2 separate regions of the Homo sapiens genome follow, and region 2 is linked to region 1. Evidence: promoter capture Hi-C in human tissues and cell types (Jung and others, 2019). All regions are on one chromosome and are shown on one strand. The core of a region is centred on a gene start or on the middle of the fragment in contact, and the rest is flanking DNA. Distances in the headings are between cores, read along the strand shown. Region 1 holds the start of LYZL1 (lysozyme like 1). Region 2 overlaps LINC01517 (long intergenic non-protein coding RNA 1517).

Region 1 (6,800 bases), core at 1,381-3,880:
GTGAATGTAAGTTTTTTATTCACTTGAATAAATACATAGGAGTATAATTGTCGGTTTATGTGATAAGTCCATGTTTAATTTTATGAGAAACTGACTAACTGTTTTCCAAAGTGACTGTACCATTTGTATTTCCACCAGTGATAAATTGGAGTTCTTACAGTTCTGTGTCTTCATCATTTGGTTTCATCTAATTGATTTTAGCAATTCTAATTAGTGAGAAGTGATATCTAATTGTGGTTTTATTTACTCTTTCCTGGTGACAATGATATTGATCATCTTTTCATATGCTTGTCATTTGTATATCTTCTTTGAAATGTCTGCTTAAATCATTTGCCCTTTTTTTAATTGGGTTATATGCTTGCTTATAGTTGAATTCTAAGAGTCCTTTATATATTCTGAATACAAGGCTTTCATCTCATCAGACATTGATTTGTAAATATTTCTTCCAATCTGTAGCTAATCTTTTCATTCCCTTAACAGTGTCTTTCAAAGAGCAAAAGTTTTAAATTTTGATCAAATCCAACTAATCAGTTTTTTTTTCTTCCTTTCATGGATTGTGCTTTTGATGTTATATCTAAAATTTCATTGCCAAACCCAAGGTCCTGCAGATTTTTTATATTTAACTTAAAGAATTTCATCGTTTCACACTTTTTACATTTAGGCTTTTGATCCATCTTGAATTAATTTTTGTATGAGATATAAGGTATGTATTCTTCAATATGCCTTATGCCTTGTTTTATTTTTGTTGTTTTCGTTGTTTTGCACATAGACAGTCTTATTTTAGTACCATGTGTTAAATGGAACATCATCTTTCCATTGAATTTAATTTGCATCTTTATAAAAAGCTACTTGACTACATATGTGTAACACTATTTCTAGGCTCTCTATTTTGTTACACTGTCCTATGTGTCTGTTTCCACAAATATCATCCTGTCTTGATTACTACAGCTTTATATTAAGTTCTAAAATCAAGCAATATGAGTCCTTCAATTTTATTATTCTTCTGAATAGTTTTGCCTACTCTAGTCCCTTTGCCTTTTCATATAAGTTTTAGGACCCTCTTATTGATATTTTCTAAACAATTTTTCTGGGAGTTTAAATGGGATTCCACTAAATCTATGTATTAAATCTTAATAATATTGACTCTTCAAATTCATGAATATGGTGTGTCTTTTTCATTTACTCAGGTCTTCTTTAATTTTCCGTCTGTCTTATAGTTGTCAGTATATATATCCTGCACATATTTTGTTAGGTTTAAATTTAAGTACTTCATTTGCATTTGTGTACTATTGTAAATGGATTTTTTTTTATTTCAAACTCTTATTTTCTATTCCTAGTATATAAGATTGTAAATGGCTTTTGTATATTTACGTCATATCTGAAAACTTGCTAAGCAAGCATTTTTGAAAAAGAAAAAGACAATCCGTCTCTATTTTCTCACTGGTAAGATCCCTATTTCAAAGCATTTTGAAAAAGATGTTTGAGGGAAAAACCTATACATTTTCTCATATTATAGACTGTTCACAAGAAGTCCACTAATGGCTTCTAAAGATAAAAAAGACCCTCAAGCAGCTTGAAATAACGAAAGTTGAAATTGAAACTCTGCTGAAAAATTATGTTTCATCTCTAATATTGAGAAATATTGAAACATTTGATAACACAGTGTGCTATCTTCCTGATACAAGCCCATGTGAAAGGCAATTTGGCAAATATCTAGCAAAATTACAAAATTATACCCTTTGATCCAGCAAGATATTCTTGTAAAGTTACAAATGACATATGTACAAAATTACTGGTTGTAATATGTTTACAATAGAAGAATAAAATAAGTGTGCATCAATATGAAATTGGCTAAGTATGCTATGTTGTATCTGTATAATGCAATACTATATGAACTTCAAAATAGATTTCAACAAAACCTTTGCATTATTGGCAGATGGAATTTAAGAAAATATAACGATTAGTTAGGTGCAGCCAACAATAAACTTCTACTTAGATCTACATATTCTAATGAGAATTCATTTCAAATGTGTCACTAAATCTGAACATTGAAATAAATAGACCTTGAAAACAGCCCTTTAGTTATTGATTCACAAAGTGTTAAGCCAAATTTTTCAAAAATAATAAAATCATGTTATTACAAAAATATTTTATTAATAATAATTTGACTATAGCAAATGTGCTGTTAATAAATTTTTAATGTTAATTTCACCTCTATGTCATTAATTTTCAAATTTTAGTTTTATGTATGTTGATAATTTATGTAGCATATTAGTACTGAGGTACAGAAGTATGATTTATAACTCAATGTACATCTAAAGAGGATACATGCTTAACTTTCTTTATTAATGGAATTTGTGATAAAGTTTGCAGACGCCTCAGAGAAGAGCTCTCACTTGGACAGGAGGCCCTGGCCAAGTTGTGTAATGAGGAGGGTTGTTGAGGGGAAAAGACAAAAAACAAGAGGTATTAAGCCCCAGAAGACAGTTATCACCTGCCTCAGAACACAAGCATGCAGGATGATACAGCTTTTAGTGCCAAGAAGTAGAATTCTAGCATCTCTAGGTGGTGAGAAACAAAGGATTAAGAATTTTTCTTTCTCTAACACTCTAAAGAAATGTTCTTGAGCTAGGAAAGGATTACTCGCGCCTCGTTAGAATCAGACATGGCTTCAGGGGATGCAGGACGCTCCCCTGAGCTGCCTGTCACCGACTAAGTGGAGCAGTGTTTCTTCCGCAGACTCAACTGAGAAGTCAGCCTCTGGGGCAGGCACCAGGAATCTGCCTTTTCAGTAAGACCTAAATTACTCTTATGAGAACCAGCAATGGCAGGTTCTTGAAGGATGTAGAACATGATGCTTGGGGTTATCATTGCTGCGGGTTTTCTTTGGACTTGTTTGAGATCAGTAAAATTCTAAGGCAGGGGATGGAAACCAACTCTATTTGTAAGCTCTGTATCTTTTTTTCTTTTTTCTTTTCTTTTTTTTTTTTTTTTTTAGACAGGGTCTCTCACTCTGCTGCCCAGGCTGGAGTGCAGTGTCACAATCATGGCTCACTATGGCCTCAAACTCCCAGCCTCAAGTGATCCTCCCACCTCAGCCTCCCCAGTAGCTGGGACCACAGGCACACACCACCATGCCTGGCTAATTTTTGTATATTTTGTAGAGGCAGGGTCTACCTTTGCTGCCCAGGCTAGTCTCAAACTCCTGGCTTCAAGCAATCTGCTCACCTCAGCCTCCCAAAGTGCTTGGATTACAGGTATCACCCACCATGCCTGGCCTTAGCTCTGCATCTTAAACCTCGTTTGTCTGTCCCTCACAGCTTAACACAGTGCTGTACACAGCGGACTGGCATGCTCTCTCTGAAAAGGGCCAGATAATAATATGTTAGGCTTTGTGGTCTATACGGCCTCAAACACAATTACTGAACTCTGCCACTGTAGTTGGAAATCAGCCACCAATGATATATTACCAAATGGGTGTAGCTATGTTTCAATAAAACTTTACATACAAAAGCGGGCCTGGTTTGCCCACGCTTGCTATTCACGTTTGTAATGTACATGCCCCTCATGCAATGCAGTTCCTTACCTTATTGCTTAGTCACCTTAAAGCCCTGCTTGTTACTTGGTGCGGTGGCCTTGCTGATGACTACTTATCCCTGTTTTGGGCCTAGCCTTTCAATGCAGGAATCCAGCCCCAGGGAGAGAAACTAATGACTGGAGAAGTTTCTAGGCAAGTGCAGAAAATGACACGGGATGAACATATGTAAGAACATCAAGTTCAGGATCCCGAGTAGTTGTCAGAAATTTCACTTCACCCCATCCCAGCAAGGCTGTTGTATTTGGGGAAGACATTATTTCAAGAGGGGAAGAGATTGTGGAAAATCAGTAGGCAGCAGGAGACAGCTCTCTTGATCCTACTCCCATTTCAGATGATTCCGCAGGGGTCTCTTTATTGCCCCTCTGCTCCCCCAGGTGCTTTCCTCCTTTCATGAGGCTTTGTCCTCCATCCCTCTTGCTCCCCAGTCAGGTGCCAGACTTTTAGGAGGCCCCCCGGAGCACTGGTGGTGAAGCTTAGCAAAGCAATGCATTTGCAATCTAAGATAAAACACTCATGTTTTGGGCTGGGCATGGTGGCTCACACCTGTTATCCCAGCACTTTGGGAGGCCGAGGTGGGCAGATCACAAGGTCAGGAGTTTGAAATGAGCCTGACCAACAGTGTGAAACCTCATCTATACTAGAAACACAAAAATTAGCCAGGTGTGGTGGTGGGCGCCTGTAATCCCAGCTACTCAGGAGGCTGAGGCAGGAGAATCGCTTGAACCTGGGAGGCAGAGTTTGGAGTGAGCCCAGATGGCGCCACTGCACTCCAGCCTGGACAACAGAGTGAGATTCCATCTCAAAAAATAAATAAATAAATAAAAGCACTGATACTTTGGAAGCAAAGCTCCCACATTTGGAACTGAATCAAGAAAAGAAAATGAAAGAGTAGGTGCTTAATCTTCACTCTTCGATAAACCCCCAAACAATAACCCTTAAAGTTTTCCATACAGGCCCACGTGTCTTTCATCTGTGGCTGAAATGGGCTGTCTGTTTCTACACATCCAGTTGATCCTTGAACAAATGTAGGGGTCACGGGCACCGACGCCTGCTCAGTTGAAAATCTGCATGTAACTTTTGACTCCCCAGAAACTTAACGACTCCATAGCCTACTGCTGACTGGAAGCCTTACTGATAACATAAATAGCCAATAAACACATATTTTTTATGTTCTATGTCTTCTGTACTGGATTCTTACAATAAAGTAAGCTAGAGAAATGAAATGTTATTCAGAAAAGAATAAGGAAGAGAAGATACATTTACTATTTGTTAAGTGGAAGTGGATCATCATAAAGGGCTTCATCCTGGTTGTCTTCACACTGAGCAGGCTGAGGTGGAGGAGGAAGAGGAGGGGTTGGTCTTGCTGTCTCGGGGTGGCAGAGGCAGAAGAAAATTCACGGATAAATGGACCCACGCAGTTCAAACCCATGTTGTTCAAGGGTCAGCAGTATAGGGAATGTTTCACCCCTGTATTCTATTTTTCATTCATAGAATTAAAATAGAAATCCTAAAAATGCCCCCTGTGGTTTTCACCTGGATGTGTATTAAGGAGGGTTAATTTTTTTGCTTGCTTAACCCTGAGAACACAGCATTGACTTGAAAGTTACTGTATGGAAAAGCATTAAGGAAACAGCCTTCAGTTGCCTTCCTTCCCTGGACCGTAGAGTGGCCGGTTTTCCCTGATGGTGGCACTGAATGACCAAAGTGACAGGCAGCATCTAGGCAGGGCTGTGCACAGTCACCACCGCTGGATTTCAAAGTTCCTGAACCAAGATCGTCTGACCTGTTCTCCGGCTCTTTGGCAGGTTCTGTCTCCGGCAGGCTTTGAGGATGAAGGCTGCGGGCATTCTGACCCTCATTGGCTGCCTGGTCACAGGCGCCGAGTCCAAAATCTACACTCGTTGCAAACTGGCAAAAATATTCTCGAGGGCTGGCCTGGACAATTACTGGGGCTTCAGCCTTGGAAACTGTGAGACTCTTTCTTTCCTGCTCTCCTTCTGTCCTTGACCTTTCCCCTGAGATGTTGAAGGTCCTGGCCACACTCCCTGCTGTGTCTTCCCAACTACCCCTGCTCTGCCCTCACCGCACTCAGGGGTGGCTGCTAGCCTAACTGTGGCTCTCTGGGTCTCCTCTCCTTCCTCCCCTGCCCCTCATTTCCTTATTCCTGGAGTCCTGTCCTTATGACACTAGCCAGGGAAGGGGAAAATAATGCCACCTCTGCTGGCATTGTGGGGAGTGGGGGGACCTGACTGTTGGTCTAGATTAGGCTCAGCCCCTGACTGGGTGTACAGCTTCAGGTGTGCCATCCCAGCCCCCGATGTGCCCCTCGTGTGCCCCCTGGGCGCATGCCCGCCCTGCCCTGCCCAAGGTGTATTGGGAGGAAGCAGTCAGGTAACAAGGATAAGGAAACTCGCCCTCAGACCAAGCTTAGAGCAAAAGATGCACTTCCTTTGCTGGCGTTTCTGGCTTTCCCCCCTCCAGGGATCTGCATGGCATATTATGAGAGCGGCTACAACACCACAGCCCAGACGGTCCTGGATGACGGCAGCATCGACTATGGCATCTTCCAGATCAACAGCTTCGCGTGGTGCAGACGCGGAAAGCTGAAGGAGAACAACCACTGCCATGTCGCCTGCTCAGGTGAGGCTCTGACTTTCCAGTGATGCCATCCTCAGGACTAGGCGAGAAAGCCGACAATGGGATCACCAACCATGTCTTGCTTTAACTAAAATTTGGAGTTCAGGCTTGCAAATAGGTCTGTTCCAGATTGGTAAATTATGCAACAGTTTCCAAGGTGACACTCAGGATCCTGTGGCTGACTTCTCCAAAGATGACTTATTCCTTGTAGACAGTTTTATGAAGCCCCCACTAAAGCAGGTGGATGGACAAACAACCCTACTGCCCTTTCATGTTAGAGATATTTGATGTCTTCAGTAAGAAAAAGGAAGCTGCCTGCCAGCTGCTTTCCATAAGCAATTCGCTCAGAGGATGCAGTTTGTACTTCTTAGTGCAGAATGAGATGAATACACTTTAGGTTTCTTTCTTTTCTTTTCCCTTTTTCTTTTCTTTCTTTTTTTTTCTTTTCTTTTCTTTTTTCTTTTTTTTTTTTTTTTGAGACAGGGTCTCACTCTGTTGCCTAGGCTGGAATGCAGTGATGTGATCATAGCTCATTGCAGTCTTGACCTCCAGGCCCCAAGTGATC
Region 2 (7,048 bases), core at 2,104-4,603, 530 kb before region 1:
ACATAAATATATATGTGTGCATATGCATGTCTGGAAAATGTTTCCTATGGCTTAAAAGTCAGAGTTATGATTTCATCTTATTAGCAACTATTTATCCCCATAAGTGTTGAGAGATGAACATGGAATCCTAGAACAGTGGCTGGAAGAGTGACCAGGCCAGTTTTTCCTATGCCTGTCTGGCCTTAGCTGTGGCTAGGTTCCCTGCACACTTCCCAACACACTGAGCAAGTACCTTCGTGTGTGATGCACCACTCTAGATGCGCAGACTCGGTTGATGATCTGAGGCTGTGAGCAGAAAAGAGCAAGAGAAATAAAGTCCTAGTTCAGTTGTGGGTGGAGACAAAATATCCACAGAAAAGGAAAAAGCAACTTCCTCAATTGCCAAATGATGTGTAGGTAATATTCTAATATTCTACTATGATGATAAAAACCATTACAAACATGTATTTTTTGAAAATAAGTTCCAAATGACATCCTGTGTTTTGTTTTTTTTTTTTTTTTTGAGACAGGGTCTCACTCTGTCATCCAGGCTGGAGCACAGTGGTGTGATCATGGTTCACTGCAGCTCCTGTGAACCTGCATACCTTCTGGGCTCATGCAACCCTCAGGCCTTACTTAGCCTCTTGAGTAGTGGGACTATAGGCACATGCCACCATGCCCAGCTGATTTTTAATTTTTTTGTAGAGATGGGGTTTTTCCATGTTTCCTAGGCTGGGACATCCTTTTAAAATAGCAGACTTATTACAGCAAAATAACAGTTGTACAGTTTTTCTCTCTTTTTCTGTAAAGGGGAATTTTTTTTAAGAGATGAGGTCTTGTTATGTTGCTCAGGCTGGCCTTGAACTCTGGGGCTCAAGCAATCCTCCTGCCTCAGCCTCCTGAGTAGCTGAGACTACAGGAGCACAGCACTGCATCTGGCTTGTAAAGGGGATTTGACAGTGCCAGCTGTATACCATGTTCAACAACATCTTGCTGTTGAAGGGAGGTGGAGTAATGGTGTGATGGGAGGCAACCTAACTAGGTACAGTTAATGAATGGAAGTCCTGGCGGCAGAATGAGCACCTTACACGTAGAGTGACAGCAACAGGGAAGCTTGGGTCTGGGGGAGGGGATATAGCTGGTGAAGGGCAGGGAAGGAGGGAGAAGATGGACAGCCTTGAATGTAACCCCAAGGGGACTTTCCAATAAACGTTAATAAAGTAGAAATGGAAAGGGAACAGCTGAGGAGTTGGAATGATGGCAGAAGAAGTTGTAGTTTGTTGTTCAGGCAGATGATGTGATGGAATTGGAGTTTGAGAAGGCTTAGTAGAGTTTATATTTCTATCATATAAAATGTTCAAAGGTTGGGAAATCAATGATTTACTCATCATCACACTGGGACTGCTGATAGACTAGTATCTTAGCCTGGGTTCTCTGGAAAGCTGATACAGCCACATAGTTAAAGCTTGAGGTCATACTTCACATGCTTTATTTTAGCATATGACCTAGGAGCAGGAGTGAAGGATGGGAGTGAAGCAAGGAAGGAAAGAGAGTCGATTACAGAGCTGTTTCGTTGAGCTGGTCACAGCTCCTGTGTCCAATCTCGTGGGGCTGCCTGAGATGTCTTGAAGTCATAAGCCCAGAGAAAGAACAGAGGGGATGCCTTTATCCACTGGATCCATTTTTCCAATGATCAAAGGTTTGTCCTATAGAGTATTAATGATTAAAATATTAAAACCCTATGGAGATTATTAGAAAGATGATAATTTAGTAGTTATCATCATCTGGGAACACCAAGCTGGTTCCCATGTGTCAACTACCCTACCAGGGCTGGCAGTGGGGGCCCTGGTCTGGGTGCTGTTAGGTTGCACCTGTTGATCAGATCCTACACAGTACTAGTCCCAACAGCAATAGATGCAAAGAGAAACAGGTGAGGCTGAGCAGGTGTGGAGTGGTGCCCAAGGGGCATCTTGACCTAGCCAAGGTATCTGGTACAAGTAATAACTTCAGGAAACCTCTTTTCTTGGAAATATTACTGATATTACTGATGGAATATTATCCCCATCAATATTATTATATAATATCATTTTATAAATTCATAAATTATTTTTAATAATAAATTATAAATACAAATTTATATTTATAAATGATAAAATTCGATACAAATTATTTTATAAATTTTATAAATTATATTATATATTTTATAAATTTATACATTTTATATTTTATAAATTTATAAAATATTTTATTACTATATTATTATATCTATATTATTATAATAAATATTATTCCCATTTCTAATAATGTTAGAAATTCCTACATTTCCAATAATGTTAGAAATATTATTGATGGGAATCTGGCCTGTGGGTTTCCCCCAAGTCTGTTGGTAATACTTGTAGTCTACTAGAAAGTATTTCCTGAAATGGAGGGCTATTGTCTGTCATGGGCCATACGTTGAAGTAGACTTTGTCCAGCACGATGAGGGACTTTTTGGTTTGTCACAGGGCTGGAGTGCAGCTGAGGTCTGGCTTTAGCCAAGGAGAGCACCTTGAAACCTGGCAGAGAATTACAGTGAACCAGAAGACTAAGTGAAGCATGAACTGGCATAATGTGAGAATCATCGCAGATTCCTATATCCCTCTTTTAGGTTCTTTGGTTGGGGGGCGCCTGGTTCTTAATAAAAAGTCCCTCTGTTGAACCACATGAGAAAAATGGACCCAGAGAAACAAGAGTTCAACAACGAGAAGGAGTTTTGCTCTTTCACCCAGGCTGGAATGCAGTGGCATGATCTCAGCTCACTGTTACCTCTGCTTTCCGGTTTCAAGCGATTCTCCTGGCTCAGCCTCCTGAGTAGCTGGGATTACAGGTGCCCACCACCACGCCCAGTTAATTTTTGTATTTTTAGTAGAGTTGGGGTTTCACCATATTGGCCAGGCTGGTCTCGAACCCCTGACCTCGTGATCCTCCCACCTCGGCCTCCCAAAGTGCTGGGATTACAGGCATGAGCCACTGTGCCTGGCCCATCCTCAGTATTTTTTATTCATCCTTGCCTCCATGTGCACTGACACAGATCAAACTAGGTTAAAATAAACACTTAGGGGTGGAAAGGAAGATAGCAGACAAGGGCAGAAATGAGTGAGTGCCTTATGATTCATATTTGCAAACCATCTGATTCTGCTACCACCTTCTTCCGTTCTGCCTGCACCTCAGCATTCTTGAGACAATAGATAGAAGCAAATGACTTGTTCCTAGGCAACTTGGAAGTTCTGCCCCAGAGGCTGCAGAAAACCCTCCTGTGTCCCTGAGTTGGCTCTGTCCTTAAATTTTGCAGCAGGAGAATTATTGAGCTGTTCTTGGGATGATTTTTAGCCTATGTATGTCTACACTTAGGAGGCTGACATCTTATAAATGCATATGGTTTTGTTCAAATGAATACGTAGTTGACAAATACTTGGCTAGAAGTTATAATGACAAATTTAATAGCCCTACTATAGCCTGAACTGTCATCTTTATTTGGGTTAAGCTTGCTAAATGTCAACTGGAATTTTGTACTATAATAACCTGCAACTTGGTTCCAAAATCAGCCATGTTTTTGACAAATGTAAGTAAATTCAGCTGTCTAAAGGGGCTCATGTGCTATGGAGTGATTAAGGAGTGGTCTTTCATTATGATTATTTAACCCCACGTCTGATAACAGTGTCCTGCTTTTTTGTTTCTGTAGATGCTTTCCTGGCTGAAAACCATGAATGACCCAGAATAGTTCATATCTTTGGAAGATCCTTATTTTCCTTGTAAATGAAAGTCATGCATTTGGAATAATAACATGAAATGATGTGAATGGTAGGGACTCAAAAACTTTCTCTTCCAAAAATATTCTACAGATTCATGCTCAGGAAAGCCAAATGCTCTACAATAGGATGAAGTGGCTCCAGGAGAGTTCTGTTTACTACTTTAATAAGTGACTAAATATATGGTATTTACGCATATGAAATTGGCTTAACTAGGACATCTCATTTCCTAGCCTTTGCATATAAAAGAGAATTGACAGTAATTCAGGTTAACTCAAAATGTATCATTTAATTGTCTTTGTCCCACATGACTAGTAAGTAGGTCACTAGCCACTTTTTTTTTTTTTGAGACAGAGTCTTGCTGTGTTGCCCAGGCTGGAGTGCAGTGGCATGATCTTGGCTCACTGCAACTTCCAACTCCTAGATTCAAGCGATTCTTCTGCCTCAGCCTCCTGAGTAGCTGGGTTTACAGTCATGCGCCACCATGCCAGGCTAATTTTTTGTATTTTTAGGAGAGACAGGGTTTCGCCATGTTTGGCAGGCTAGTCTCGAACCCCTGACCTCAGAGATCCACCCATCTCAGCCTCCAGAAGTGCTGGGATTACAGGCATGAGCCACCGCGCCCGGCCACCAGCCACTTCTAACCCTACTCTCTCTCGGAAGTTTTGAGTTGTATGCACACTCAGACCTCTTTGCTTTCCCAGTGTATCAGTTTTGACCTAATCCTTTTTCTATGTATTTAACTCTTGCTATAGTTCCTTTGGATCGTATAGTAAGATTGCCAAGTGAAAAACTCCTGATGTGTGTTCAAGTCATAGACTCCATTTCTAAATCTCCAAATTCATATGTTTCATTTCTTATCACCTTCTCCTTCCTCCTTCTGTCTCTACTTCTGTTATTCTGTTCCTGCTTATCCCATTGGTCCTGTCTTAAGTTATCCCTTGGATTAAAAATAATAATAATAAAACTTTTTATTATAGAAAATCTCAAATATGTACCAAAGCCTTTAATCATGTAATGTGCCCTCATGTATTTATCACTTAATTTCTACAATTATTAATTCATGGCCAATCTTATTTCTGCAATACTCCAGCCCTCAAGCAGTACTGGGTATAATGGAAAATACCGATACATTGAACATGAAAATCAAGAACTCCTATTTATCAAAGTATATTAGAAAGGGCACAAAAAGCAAATGACTCATTCTGGAAAATATAAAGGGCTCGTATTTATCACTAAGAAAAAAACCAAACAATCCAGTAGAAGAAAAATGGTAAGGGACTTGAACAGGCACTTCATAAAAGAAGATATCCAAGTAGTTAACATACTTACATAAAGGTGCTCTTCTATTACTTATCCAAGAATTGCTAATAGCCACATCCACTAGAATGGCTAACATTAAAAAGCCTGGCAATGCCAAATTCTGACAAGGATATGAAGGAACTCAAATTCTCATTCATCATTTGTTGTAGTATAAATTGGCATAATCGGCTGGTTGCTGTGGGTCATGCCTGTAATCCCAGCACTTTGGGAGGCTGAGGTGGGAGGATCACTTGAGTTCAGGAGTTTGAATCCATCCTGGACAACATGGCAAAACCTTGTCTCTATGAAAATACAAAAAATTACCTGGGAATGGTGGTGTGTGCCTGGAGTCTCAGCTACTTGGGGGGCTGAGGTGGGAGGATCACTTGTGCTTGGGAGGTTGAGGCTGCAGTGAGTTGAGATCGCACCACTGTGTTCCAGCCTGAGTGATAAAGTGAGACCCTGTCTCAACAAAAAAACAAAACAAACCCATAAATTCAATTCTGGCTATATACAATAATGAATAAATTTTACAATGCTTAGGTTTTTTTTAAAGCAAGGCAACAGCAGCTGGGCGCTGTGGCTCATGCCTGTAATCCAGTACTTTGGGAGGCTGAGGCAGTTGGATCACCTGAGGTCAGGAGTTTGAGATCAGTCTGGCCAACATGGCGAAACCCCATTTCTACTAAAAATACAAAAATTAGTTGGGCGTGGTAGTGGGCCCCTGTAATCCCAGCTAGTCGGGAGGCTGAGGCAGGAGAATCACCGGAACCTGGGAGGTGGAGGTTGCAGTGAGCTGAGATCGCGCCATTGCACTCCAGCCCAGACGACAAGAGCAAAACTCCGTCTCAGAATAAATAAATAAATAAAAATTAATACATTAAAAAAAAGCAAGACAACAAAGCATATATACAAATTACTTCATGGAAAATGGCAGAGCAGGATACTCAAATAATCAATTTCTCATGTCTGTAATCCCAGCACTTTGAGAGGCCGAGGCGGGTGGATCACCTGAGGTCAGGAGTTCATGACCAGCCTGGGCAATATGGTGAAACCTCGTCTCTACCAAAATTACAAAAATTAGCCGGACATGGTGGTGGGCGCCTGTAATCCCAGCTACCTGGGAAGCTGAGGCAAGGGAATCACTTGAACCCAGGAGGCAGAGGTTGCAGTGAGCCGAGATCATGCCACTGCACTCCAGCCTCGGTGCCAGAGCCAGACTCCATCTCAAAAAAAAAAAAGAAAGGGAGAAAAATAGAGTATAGCTTCGAGCTGTCTATTTTACTACACGTTTTTCTTATTTGAAGAAGCATTGAGTTGAACTTGCTGTAGTTACTGCAAACTCGCTACCAGGTGAAGGTTCTGACTGGGTCTTTTCCAGGCCATGGAAATAGCACAAGGGGATAATTTCAATGAATCTGATTACTACAAATTAATGTTTTGGTTTCTTGATGATTGAAGTCTGTTGAAGAATAGGGGCTTTCCATTTGGGTGGGATCATTTGAATTACAGATTGATATGTTGAGTAGATTTATTTTTAGTTTTCATTGTAGAGAGACACAGCATAGCAACATGAATGCCATGTAGACCTCCAGGAACACAAGTGGAATTGAACAAACTGGTGTTATTCACTGTGATGAGAGAGAACACACACAATTGGAAACTGTGGAGTGTCTCTGTAGGAGAGTGTCAAAAAGGACTTACAGGATTTAAGCTGTGTGTGGTGATTTGGGAAAGGATTCAAGGAAGCGGGACTTTGGTCTGAATTGGATGCTGTCAGGAAGTGGAATTAATTCTATAATTGGGCATCTTATCTAGAAAGTGAGAGGAAGGAAGCCAGGTTAGAGCTTTAATTGCTAAATCAGCAGTCACTCGTATTAGCTAGGATGGGTGGGGAGTTGGTATTCTGTGGCTTGGACAATGTTTATATTTTGTCTGTGTTCACACATGATATGGAATAATATTATTTTTTTAAAAAG

Evidence for each region. Contacts are between HindIII fragments. The study calls those that stand out against the background at their distance.
Region 2: a fragment that was not itself captured here is called in contact with the fragment with the promoter of LYZL1 in region 1 in 2 of the 25 tissues and cell types used here (IMR-90 fibroblasts and dorsolateral prefrontal cortex).

The regions. Positions count from the first base shown.
Region 1 is chr10:29,286,440-29,293,239 of GRCh38, forward strand. It overlaps LYZL1 (lysozyme like 1), which reads left to right and starts at 2,631. Exons shown (of 5, transcript NM_032517.6): 1 at 2,631-2,791; 2 at 5,404-5,567; 3 at 6,080-6,238. The coding sequence starts at 5,429. The HindIII fragment of the contact is 13,518 bases long and covers 1-5,047 here.
Region 2 is chr10:28,753,660-28,760,707 of GRCh38, forward strand. All of the region lies in intron 2 of LINC01517 (long intergenic non-protein coding RNA 1517), which reads left to right. It also overlaps the pseudogene RNU6-270P. Among named protein-coding and RNA genes, the nearest start is that of LINC01517, 14 kb to the left of the region's middle. The HindIII fragment of the contact is 7,130 bases long and covers 1-6,918 here.